Linked DNA regions of Homo sapiens: regions 1 and 3 are each linked to region 2. Evidence: promoter capture Hi-C in 16 types of primary human blood cells and fetal thymus (Javierre and others, 2016). All regions are on one chromosome and are shown on one strand. Each heading gives the region's core, a stretch centred on a gene start or on the middle of the fragment in contact. The rest is flanking DNA. Distances are from core to core; before and after follow the strand shown. Region 1 has its middle 2.7 kb from the start of EGR2. Region 2 holds the start of CCDC6 (coiled-coil domain containing 6). Region 3 overlaps LOC105378327 (a long non-coding RNA gene).

Region 1 (3,020 bases), core at 69-2,568, 2.9 Mb before region 2:
ATCTGATTTTCACCGAAGTGCACATGTTCTATGCCATTCAAGTTTGAGGTCCCCACCCTCATGAGTGTCCACAGTTAAGGCAAATTCTGACCTTCTTTTGTCTTCCACTCCAGTAACAGTATTAGTATGGAAGGGAACAAAAATGACATTACAATAGGTAGAGCCTATAATGATGTGCAAGAATGTTAATAAATCAAAACACAAATATGAACAAATTATTTGTGACATCCCTCTTGGCTGATGGTGATCCTGTCACCACACTGTAAATGAGAATTTCAAATCTGGGTTAAAAAAAAAAACCTGAAAATCACTCAGGAGACTCTGGGGTCCAGCTAGGACCCTCAGGTTGCCACCCCTGCTTGTCACCCTAAACACTCTCCCGCAACCCCAGGAGCAAGCCTACTAAAGGGTTTCTCTGCATCGTTGTTATTTTACTTTCTGGCTCTGGAATCTGGACAAAGCAAATTGGAATCTGGCATGAGTTTGCTACTCTTTTAATAGCCCTGATACATCTTGGAGTGCCCCATTTAGTCGGGCATTTTTACAGGTCTATTTTAAAGAAAGTTGTTTCTTTGTTGGATTTTTAATCAAAACAAAAAAGTTCAAATGCTTAATAGTAGGGACCATGGTACATGTTTGTATTCAACTCTCACATTCTCCATCCCCACACCCCTCCACCTCCAGCACAGTATCTTGCTCAGTAAACCCTTTGGAGTTTTTACTTGTCCGCACTTCTTTCTTTTCTCACCTCTTCTTGTCTCCAGGAAGGATACTGTGGGGCTAGCTTCTCTTATGACAGCGCCTATTAGTATGCTGGCTTTGTGCCAGCCTGGCTATTCCATCCACAGTCTAGGTCTGGAGAGCCCAAGAACTCAAATTCTCCCTTTACAGTGGGCAGGGGGCGTGTCCATGACAGTCCCTTCCTCCTTGCCTGTAGAAAGCCCTGACCTCAGCTTTGCTCTCCTCAGAAATGGCAAAGAAAGGAGATGAAATTGGCGGAGGCGGCCTGATTCTTCCCTAGTGGGCTGAGTCAGGCTCCCAATCCTCAAAGAAGTGTTCACTTTTCAGACCTGGGTTTTCCTGAGGGCACGATGTAGCGACCACTGTGCGCTGTACTTGGATTCAGAAGACCCAGCTGCAAGTTTGGACACGACCACTTACCAGCTACGTGACTTTAGGCAAGCCACTTTAGCTTTCTGAGCTTATCCACAGGGTGGCTGGCTTGAAAGGGTGCGCCTTGATTCTGTTCCATTATCTGCACTACCCATATTTAAGGGTTGGTACTTCAAGAGACACTCAAAAAAACAAAGGTTACGAGAGTTATCTACTGACTTGTTTCAGCGGAGGTTCAATAAAGGCCTCCCAGGACTGGCCCCAGGCATTCCCTGGCCTCCCCGCAGCTGCCGCCCGTCCCCGCCCCCACTCCATTCCCTGCGCACCCCAGGCTGATGCAGCGTAGCTCTTAGGGGGAGGTGTGAGTCCTTGGAAAGCTCACAAGAATTTCAGAGGGTCAGTCACTCTCATTTACTCTAATGTGCTTTCAAGACTCCTTGATGGGGCCCCCTCCTCCACCCGCCTTCTACTGGCATCCTCCTCCGGGAAAGGTGGCAGCCGAAGACCTCGCGGTTTTCCCTCGCTCAGGCACCCCGCCCCGCCCCCAGCCCCGGTCCTGCCCTCCGCGCCCTGCTGGCCGGGCACTCGGGCGTCCAGGAGCTCCCCCTCGGGGTGGCGCGCGGCGACCGCCGGCGGGTTTGGCAGCAGCGCCAGTCGCGGGGCGGCCCGGGCAACTCGCCCGCCTGCCGGTCCGCCCACGTGCGCAGAGAGGAGCGAAGCGCGAGCAGTCGCCTCGCCCGCGCTTGCTGCCGGTGGGTGCCTCACCTAAGGGGCCGGCGGGGGCCGTAACCCGAGCCCCATCGCAGGGATCCGCATTTGCATAATTCGGCTTTCCCCCGTTCTTTCGGACTCAGGGCCCGAGATGCGAGTCGGACTCCCTTCCGAGGCGTCGTCTTGCCCATGGTCAGCGCGGGGGCCGCGGGACCCGCCAGAGCGCAGGCGGAGTGGGCTGGCGCACGTGGTAAGAACGCAGCTATCTTTTCTTGCTTTTCTTTTCTTTCTTTCTTTCTTGAGAAATAGGACTTTGCACATTTTTGCTGGGGTGGGGTATCTACTAGGGTGCTAACCTTGCTGCGATTTCTTTCCATGTCCTTTTCATCCCCAATTGGAAAAAAGCGCACAGCGCGAGCGAGAAACTTTCCCAAATGTGCTCTGGGTGACTTAAGTCAGAGAGATGGCCGGCCGCTGGATACCGGCTGTTTTGGAGGGAGGGGGAGAAGCAGCGCTTCAGTGGAAGAGCAGAGGGAGAGACCGCTCCCGGCAGCCTCAGGGCCCTGACCGCGGTGCGCTGGGCCCGGCGAGAGCTGGCGCACGGCTGCAGCGGTCGAGGCAGGTGAGCGGCTGAAGACCCGCCTGCAGCGCCGCGCTTCCTCCACGGCGTGGCGCCGTGGCTCCCGCCCGCCCCGGCCCACACTAAGCTAGGGCCGCTCCGGGCCCGGGGTGAAAAAGGGACAGGACAGGCCTGCGAGGCTGACCCTGCGCGTTATCCCTGGCCTCCGCGGCTTTGGAGCGGGAAAGGGCTCTGGGGCAGTTCGCAACCTGCACAAACGACCATGAATGAGTCATGCAGGCGGCGGTGCGCTGGACTTGGGCACCCGGGACCAGCCTCCTGTGGGGCCCCGGACAGGCCCGGCTATCCATTGCGGGCTGGGGCGCACTGGGAGGTAGAAGCTTTGCGCCCAGCAAGCCAGAACCTGCTGCTATTTGGACTTTGGAAAAGTTTTTAAAAATTGCTTTGGGAACGAAACAGAAGGGTTTCTACCGGGGTCTCGCAAAGTAAAACGAGTGGGTTGGGGGATGGGGATGGCGTCTTGAAAGTGATTAGAGATGCTTTCGGCCGTCACTGAGGACCGCGCTGGGCTCACCGAGGTGTTTTTTGGGGAGGGAGAGAAAATATTTATTCTAGT
Region 2 (3,346 bases), core at 446-2,945:
TCAGTGCAAATTAAACTGGATCACTTGTAACAGAATGATTTAGATTGCCTATATGTTTCTCAAGAGCAAAGCCAAGCATTTCCTCCCTCCTGCTATACAAACAGTGACAGAGTTCAGAAGCCCTCCAGCACTAAGCTAAAAAATACCTGGGAGAAACTGGGGTTTAGTTGCTGTTGGCATTTAAGCTGTTTGCTAAAAGCAGCCATCTTGGTGAAAGATGATGTCATTTGGAACACTTGGTGTTTTCGAGTTTATTCTGAGGTGCCAGTTTCCAAGAGCCATTGAATCACCGTTTAATCATGAGATCAAATTTAGGTTTAAAGATAATGAGGGAGTGGGAATAAGAATCATTCTTCTTTCTTCCTAACACTTTAGAAATCTTTCAGAAAGTTCAACCCAACAGAAAAAAAAATTACACTTTTTTTTCTATTTTCTATTACCATGTGTTTGTTGTAATGTTAACTAAGCGTGGGTAATAAAACTAGTCTGGTCAGTTTCACTTTCCAATTTTTATACATAAGTGAAAGCTGTTTTGTGTCAACAGGGCAAAGTGTTTAGAATCATCTCACCTGCTGGGCCAATTTCCTGCAAGCCTTTCTTTGGGAAGAGGAAGGGGGAATAAAAGTTTTTGATTTTTAATTTCTTAAACTGCAAAGCTAGAACCATGAATTAGACCGCATTACAGTAATTACTGTTTTATTTTTACATGCTAAAGTTTTCTAGGAGTGAGCAAGAGGATAGCAAAGACGGGTGATGTTGCACTCCCACTCAATCATTACTATTTGTATAGCATAATGTTATGTCCGCAGTTACTTTGGAAAATTGGCACTTAAAGAGGTGTTTCAATCTTCTACTAAAAGTGTTTCGCCTTCCTTTTTTTTTTTCTTCATTAGGTAAATGTTACTGTCTTAATCCTACTACGAGACATGTGCTGGAAATGTTTGCAAAATGCAAAGAGAAAAAGAAAAAAACAGTTGCACCTTGTTTAAACAATTGAGCGCAGTGTGGTTTATGAGGTTATTAAAGGAGATGTGTGTCTCTCCTGCAAATTCTTACTTAACAAGGTTAACCTGTGGCTGCTGTTGTTTCATCCTCCTCGGCCTCTTGTAGAGGAACTTTGTTCTCTTAGGTTTATCCAAGCCTTCCTAGTCAAAAACACCTTGCTTTTGAGAATATAAAACTGCGTGTATGTGTGAAACAGATAGAGGGAGACACGCGCACACACAGTCGGCGGAAGATGGGGCCACAACACGGTAGAGGATGGGTGCCGGAGCCCGGCTGACCTTTCCACGTGTCCCCGGCACCTGCGAGGCTGGTGGGGCATCAGGTTTCCTTTTTCTCGGGGCGGGCGCGAGCCCGGAAGAGGCTGGGCGGCCGTGGGCTTAGATCAGGGGGCTCGGAGGCCCTCCCTTGGAACACGTGTGGCTGGCGAGCTGGTGGTGCGGGGGCAGTCCTTGGCTTTCCCGCACCCGCAGTGCCTGCGCGTTCCCAGCCCGCCCGTGGTCACCAGACGGCGGCGGGCGGGTCCCGGAGCTTTCAGCCAGCTTTGCTGGGCGGCCTAGGGAGCGCGCCCAGCCCGGCTGGAGCGAGCCCCAGTGCAATACTGCCCAAGCCCGGGCGGGGTCTCTGTTCTCTGGCAGAGGAGGTCCCTTGGCAGCGGGAAGCGCCCTCTCTTTCTCTCGCCGCCGCTCCGAGTCTGCGCCCTGGTGCCAGGCGCTCAGCTCGGCGCTCCCCTGTGCTCGCCCGGCGCCCACTCATTCGCAGCCCGGCCTTCGTCGCCGCCGCCTCCCTGCTGCTCCTCCTCCTTTCCCCAGCCCGCCGCGGCCATGGCGGACAGCGCCAGCGAGAGCGACACGGACGGGGCGGGGGGCAACAGCAGCAGCTCGGCCGCCATGCAGTCGTCCTGCTCGTCGACCTCGGGCGGCGGCGGTGGCGGCGGGGGAGGCGGCGGCGGTGGGAAGTCGGGGGGCATTGTCATCTCGCCGTTCCGCCTGGAGGAGCTCACCAACCGCCTGGCCTCGCTGCAGCAAGAGAACAAGGTGCTGAAGATAGAGCTGGAGACCTACAAACTGAAGTGCAAGGCACTGCAGGAGGAGAACCGCGACCTGCGCAAAGCCAGCGTGACCATCGTGAGTGCCCCCCGGGGACGCGCCGCAGCGCCGACCTCCGCCCGCCCCGGGAGGGGCTGCACCCGAATCCAGCCACCCCCCAAGTCTTCCCCAGATTCCCGGGGACCCTCTGAGAGCACACTCCCTGCGGGGACCTGCTGGCTTCCGGGAGGAGAGGGAGGTATCCCTTCGGGGCCACGCGGGTCTGTCCTCCTCGGGGGTCTGAGGACCCTTGCGCGGTGCGGGGGAAGGCTACTGTGGCAACCATTCATGGTCCCTTTTAGCCTCTGGAGAGGAGGCCCCTCCGGGGCTGGGCTGGAGGCTGGCGGCGTGGCTGGGGGGCGGGGTAGGACTTTTTTCAGCCCTAGCATGTTTGAGGGGTGCGTCCAGAATCTGGGGAACCCCAGTCCTGGAAGAGGGAGGAAGCTGGGATCTCTTACTGGGTCCTGGCTCGGAGTGTGGGGGTTCGCAGCTGGACTGGGCACTAAGCTGGCATCTGGACTGCGCTAGCTGGATCGCCCGGGGAGGGGGCGGGAGAGAGTGGCCGGGAATCCGGGAAGTGGAGTTTTCTGGCCGGGATCGAGAGGGAAGGGCGGGTACGGCGCTAATGCTCCCACCTCTGTTGGAAGCTCTTTGCTTTGGGTTGGGAGGGTGGACGGTTTACAGCGAGGAGAGTGCAGCATCCACGCCTGGACAGGGCTGGGGCCGAAACCAGGGGAAGGGTAGTGACTGTGACTCCCTGGCTGAGCCAGAGGTACGTGTGTTTGCTTCATTCGTGGAGTGGTTAGAAGTATCTTGCTTCTGAGTCTAGATACTGGAGAACAGGCCATCTGTTCTGTTTCTACCTGTCCCCTGGAGGCTGCCCAGAAACGGGTAAGCTTGGGTCTGTAGGTCTCTCTCCTGGTGTGGCAGGCGTTTAGAAAGGCCCCTATAGCAGTGATGAGGCGAAACGTAACTAGAAAAAGTACACTGTGTACTCTCACCTATCATCCCTGCCAGCTCACCACATCATTAACATGAAGGATCCCCACACAGACAACTGTATTCAAATCAAAAGTTCCCCAGCCAGAAGCAGAGAAGATGATGTCAAGAAATCAAGGGGGATAAATGGCCATAGCTGCTGCAAAATAGCGGATTAGGCTGAACTTTGAAATGAAGAAAAAGGGATGAATTTGGGGATAGAGGGTCACACCTTGGAAATGGAGCAAGTTTAGGATGCCCCTTGTGCCAGGAAATGC
Region 3 (3,009 bases), core at 480-2,979, 2.7 Mb before region 2:
AGCCACCCAGTTAACGAATCACAGAAGTCTGACATCACAGAGAATGGGGAAAAGTATCCCTATCCACTTCAGTGGCTCCTGGGAGCATTCTATTTAATGCTACAAAACTTTAAACACTATTCGAAATTGTGATCCTGAGTCATTAAGATAACGTTTTATTCAGTTTAAAAAGTAAGCACCACACCATATTTTTTAAAAAAGGATTTTAAAAATAAAACCATAAAACATCGAGGAAATTTAGTGAATATTCATCTGACTTCTGAAAGGGAAATAATTTTCTAAGCACAAAAGCAAAAGAAGAAATAAAGAAAAAAGCCATATTTGTGTATAAATAGAAGTTAAGATTTACATATTAAAAATCATGAACCCAATTAAAAGGTAAACAGCAAGCTGTGAAAATTATTTGTCACAAACATGATATCCAATAACCTTAACAAAGTTCACCCAAGTCAATGAGTAAAATATTAAGGCCATGAGAGAAAATGGTCGTATGATATGTATTATAGAAGGAAAAATATCAGTGTCAAATTAGTATTTATAAATGTTTAAACTCACTGGTAATGAAAAGTGCAAACAGTTATAAGATAGCAGTTTTAACTTACCAAATTAACACAGATTTTTAAAAAATAACAGTATTTAATGTTGGTAAGGATGGTAAAATATTATTCTTAGAGAATGCTGGGGGTGTATAGATGGTACAAATCCTCTGAAAGGCAATTTTATAATATATATGATTTTGCTTATAGGTACCTCCATTCAAACAAAATCAAAATAGAGGCAAAGATTTCTATAAATAGATATTAATCCTTATTCATAATAAAAACATAATAAAAGTGATTAAATGAAATGTAATGCATTTCCATTATAGACTATCATAGAGCCATTAAAAGATACATTTTCAAAGACTGTTTAATGACACAGAAAATATTAAGTGAATTGTGACAGTTATTTTATATATTAATATTTTATGCAAAATAAGATGAGATAAATTACAATAAATGTTAACAGAACTATGGGCTTTTGCCTTATTTAGTCTTCTGCAATTTTTTTAAGCTTTGAAAAATAAGCATATATTTACTTTTATACTCAAAAATATTTAATTTTATTTTTAACAATTAAAATAGAGATGTGTATAATACACTTTAGAAAGATTTTTAGGTTGAATGGTTTAATTGTTTTGGTGTTCGAAGCCTCAGTGATGCAGACTGTTCATCCACATGAAGTCTTACCTCTCGAGATGGTGGATAAGACATTGCGGTATTTTGGAAATACTGGCTTACCTTAATGAAAAATAAATCTCTAAAATTATATAATGTGGTTAATGTTTGCTTTGTGACAGTATTTTCCAAATTGTGTTTCAGGAAAAAGAAGTACTTTAAGTTGCCCTGTGAAAAAAAGCATTCAGAGTTCAAATAAACTTAGGAAATACTGAATACTATGCAGTCATCTCTTGGTAGCCACGGAGGACTGGTTCCAGGACCCCTCTGTCCCCTGCAGATACCAAAACCTGAGAATGCTCAAGTCCCTTATATAAAATGGCATAGTATTTGCATTCAATCTATGCACATCCTCTCTCATATACTTTAAATCATCTCTAGATTGCTTATAATACCTAATACAATGCCTACACACCAATTTATTTGCAAGGATTCTATGCAGTACTTGGTTCACAGCAAATTCAAGTTTTGCTTTTGTGACTTTGTGAGGTTTTCTTTTCCAAGGTTAGTTGAATCCAAGAGGCAGAATTCACAAATATGACTGTATTCCTTTCTTGGAGAGTCACAATTCACATTAGCATTTTCAAGGCTCTGAAAAGCCCTACAGTAACATGCTTAGTTTTGTTTAGACCAGAGTTTCCCTAAGTGCTACTCTTCAGAAATGTATTGAGTAGCACCTACTAATGTCTCCCTGCCAAATTGTTTTGTGTATGTTACACACCTTGGAAAACCATGAGTTTAAGCAAAGCTCAGCTGACTTACTCACTTCTAGCTATGAGGCTAGAAGATGTGAGTCCAGTTTTGATTATTTTTTCAGAAACTGTCAGGAAAATGCTAGCTGAGATGATGGCAAGGTTGTGATTGGGCAGGCTTGAGGCTCTGTGTGGTAGTTCTATGCTTAGGAAGACTTCAGGCTCTTTTTCAAGTTGTCAGATTCCCCTCTCCCACACTCCATCACCAGTCCCAAGTCAGTGAGTGGCTGCCAGCCAGGGTCCTCTGAGCTGCTGAAGGCTTCCCTTTCCACCCACACTGTGCAAAATGGGGATGGGACTTTCCAGGCACACAGCCTGAAGGCAGACAGCTTCTCCAACTTCCTGCTCCAGATTGGAGAATGATGTGCAATCCCTTACTATCAGCTCTTACATCTGGAAGGGTTTAAGTAGGGTCTATTACTAGAAAGTAAGCTTTATGTTAGAAGGTACTGAATACACAGGAACTTTTCCTGAGGATAGTGCGAATGAAGTCTTTGTTTGTTTGTTTCAATGAGCTGCCTGTAAGTGTCTTCTCTCTCTGGTTTTTTGTCCTCTCCTTCCAAGGTCCTTTTGGCCTTTTTGACCTTTTTTTTTTTCTTTTTTTGAAATGGAGTCTTGCTCTGTCACCCAGGCTGGAGTCAGTGGCCTGATCTCGGCTCTCACTGCAACCTCCACCTCCCGGGTTCAAACGATTCTCCTGCCTCAGCCTCCCAAGTAGCTGGGACTACAGGTGCACTGCACCACGCCCAGCTAATTTTTGTATTTTTTAGTAGAGATGGGGTTTCACCATATTGGCCAGGCTGATCTCAAACTCCTGACCTCAAGATCCACCTGCCTCGGCCTCCCAAAGTGCTAGGATTACAGGCGTGAGCCACCGTGCCAGACCCGACCTTTAACTTTAACTTACGGTTCAGGATCCCAGGCAATGGGCTCTTTTTGGAGCCCCATTATGATTTTCAGGTCCACCCAAGTGGAACAATGTCTTTGGTCATATTGACATTCTCAGACAGCATTCATTGTCCCACTATGCTCCCAGAGCC

Evidence for each region. Contacts are between HindIII fragments. The CHiCAGO score rates a contact against its expected background, and 5 or more counts as called.
Region 1: a contact is called between a fragment that was not itself captured here and the fragment with the promoter of CCDC6 in region 2, in 1 of 17 cell types (non-activated CD4 T cells). The highest score is 5.8, in non-activated CD4 T cells.
Region 3: a contact is called between a fragment that was not itself captured here and the fragment with the promoter of CCDC6 in region 2, in 1 of 17 cell types (non-activated CD4 T cells). The highest score is 11.1, in non-activated CD4 T cells.

The regions. Positions count from the first base shown.
Region 1 is chr10:62,817,595-62,820,614 of GRCh38, reverse strand. It overlaps a transcript of EGR2 not described here. Among named protein-coding and RNA genes, the nearest start is that of EGR2, 2.7 kb to the right of the region's middle. RefSeq lists silencers at 1,619-1,868, 2,369-2,518 and enhancers at 2,599-2,768, 2,406-3,020. The HindIII fragment of the contact is 2,936 bases long and covers 1-2,786 here.
Region 2 is chr10:59,904,905-59,908,250 of GRCh38, reverse strand. CCDC6 (coiled-coil domain containing 6) reads left to right here and starts at 1,695. Exons shown (of 9, transcript NM_005436.5): 1 at 1,695-2,129. The coding sequence starts at 1,827. RefSeq lists enhancers at 1-60, 2,753-2,982 and silencers at 1,106-1,400, 1,583-1,922, 1,953-2,232. The HindIII fragment of the contact is 3,234 bases long and covers 1-2,988 here.
Region 3 is chr10:62,639,849-62,642,857 of GRCh38, reverse strand. The region is part of intron 1 of LOC105378327 (a long non-coding RNA gene); the gene reads left to right. Among named protein-coding and RNA genes, the nearest start is that of ADO, 160 kb to the left of the region's middle. RefSeq lists an enhancer at 2,206-2,275. The HindIII fragment of the contact is 1,348 bases long and covers 1,056-2,403 here.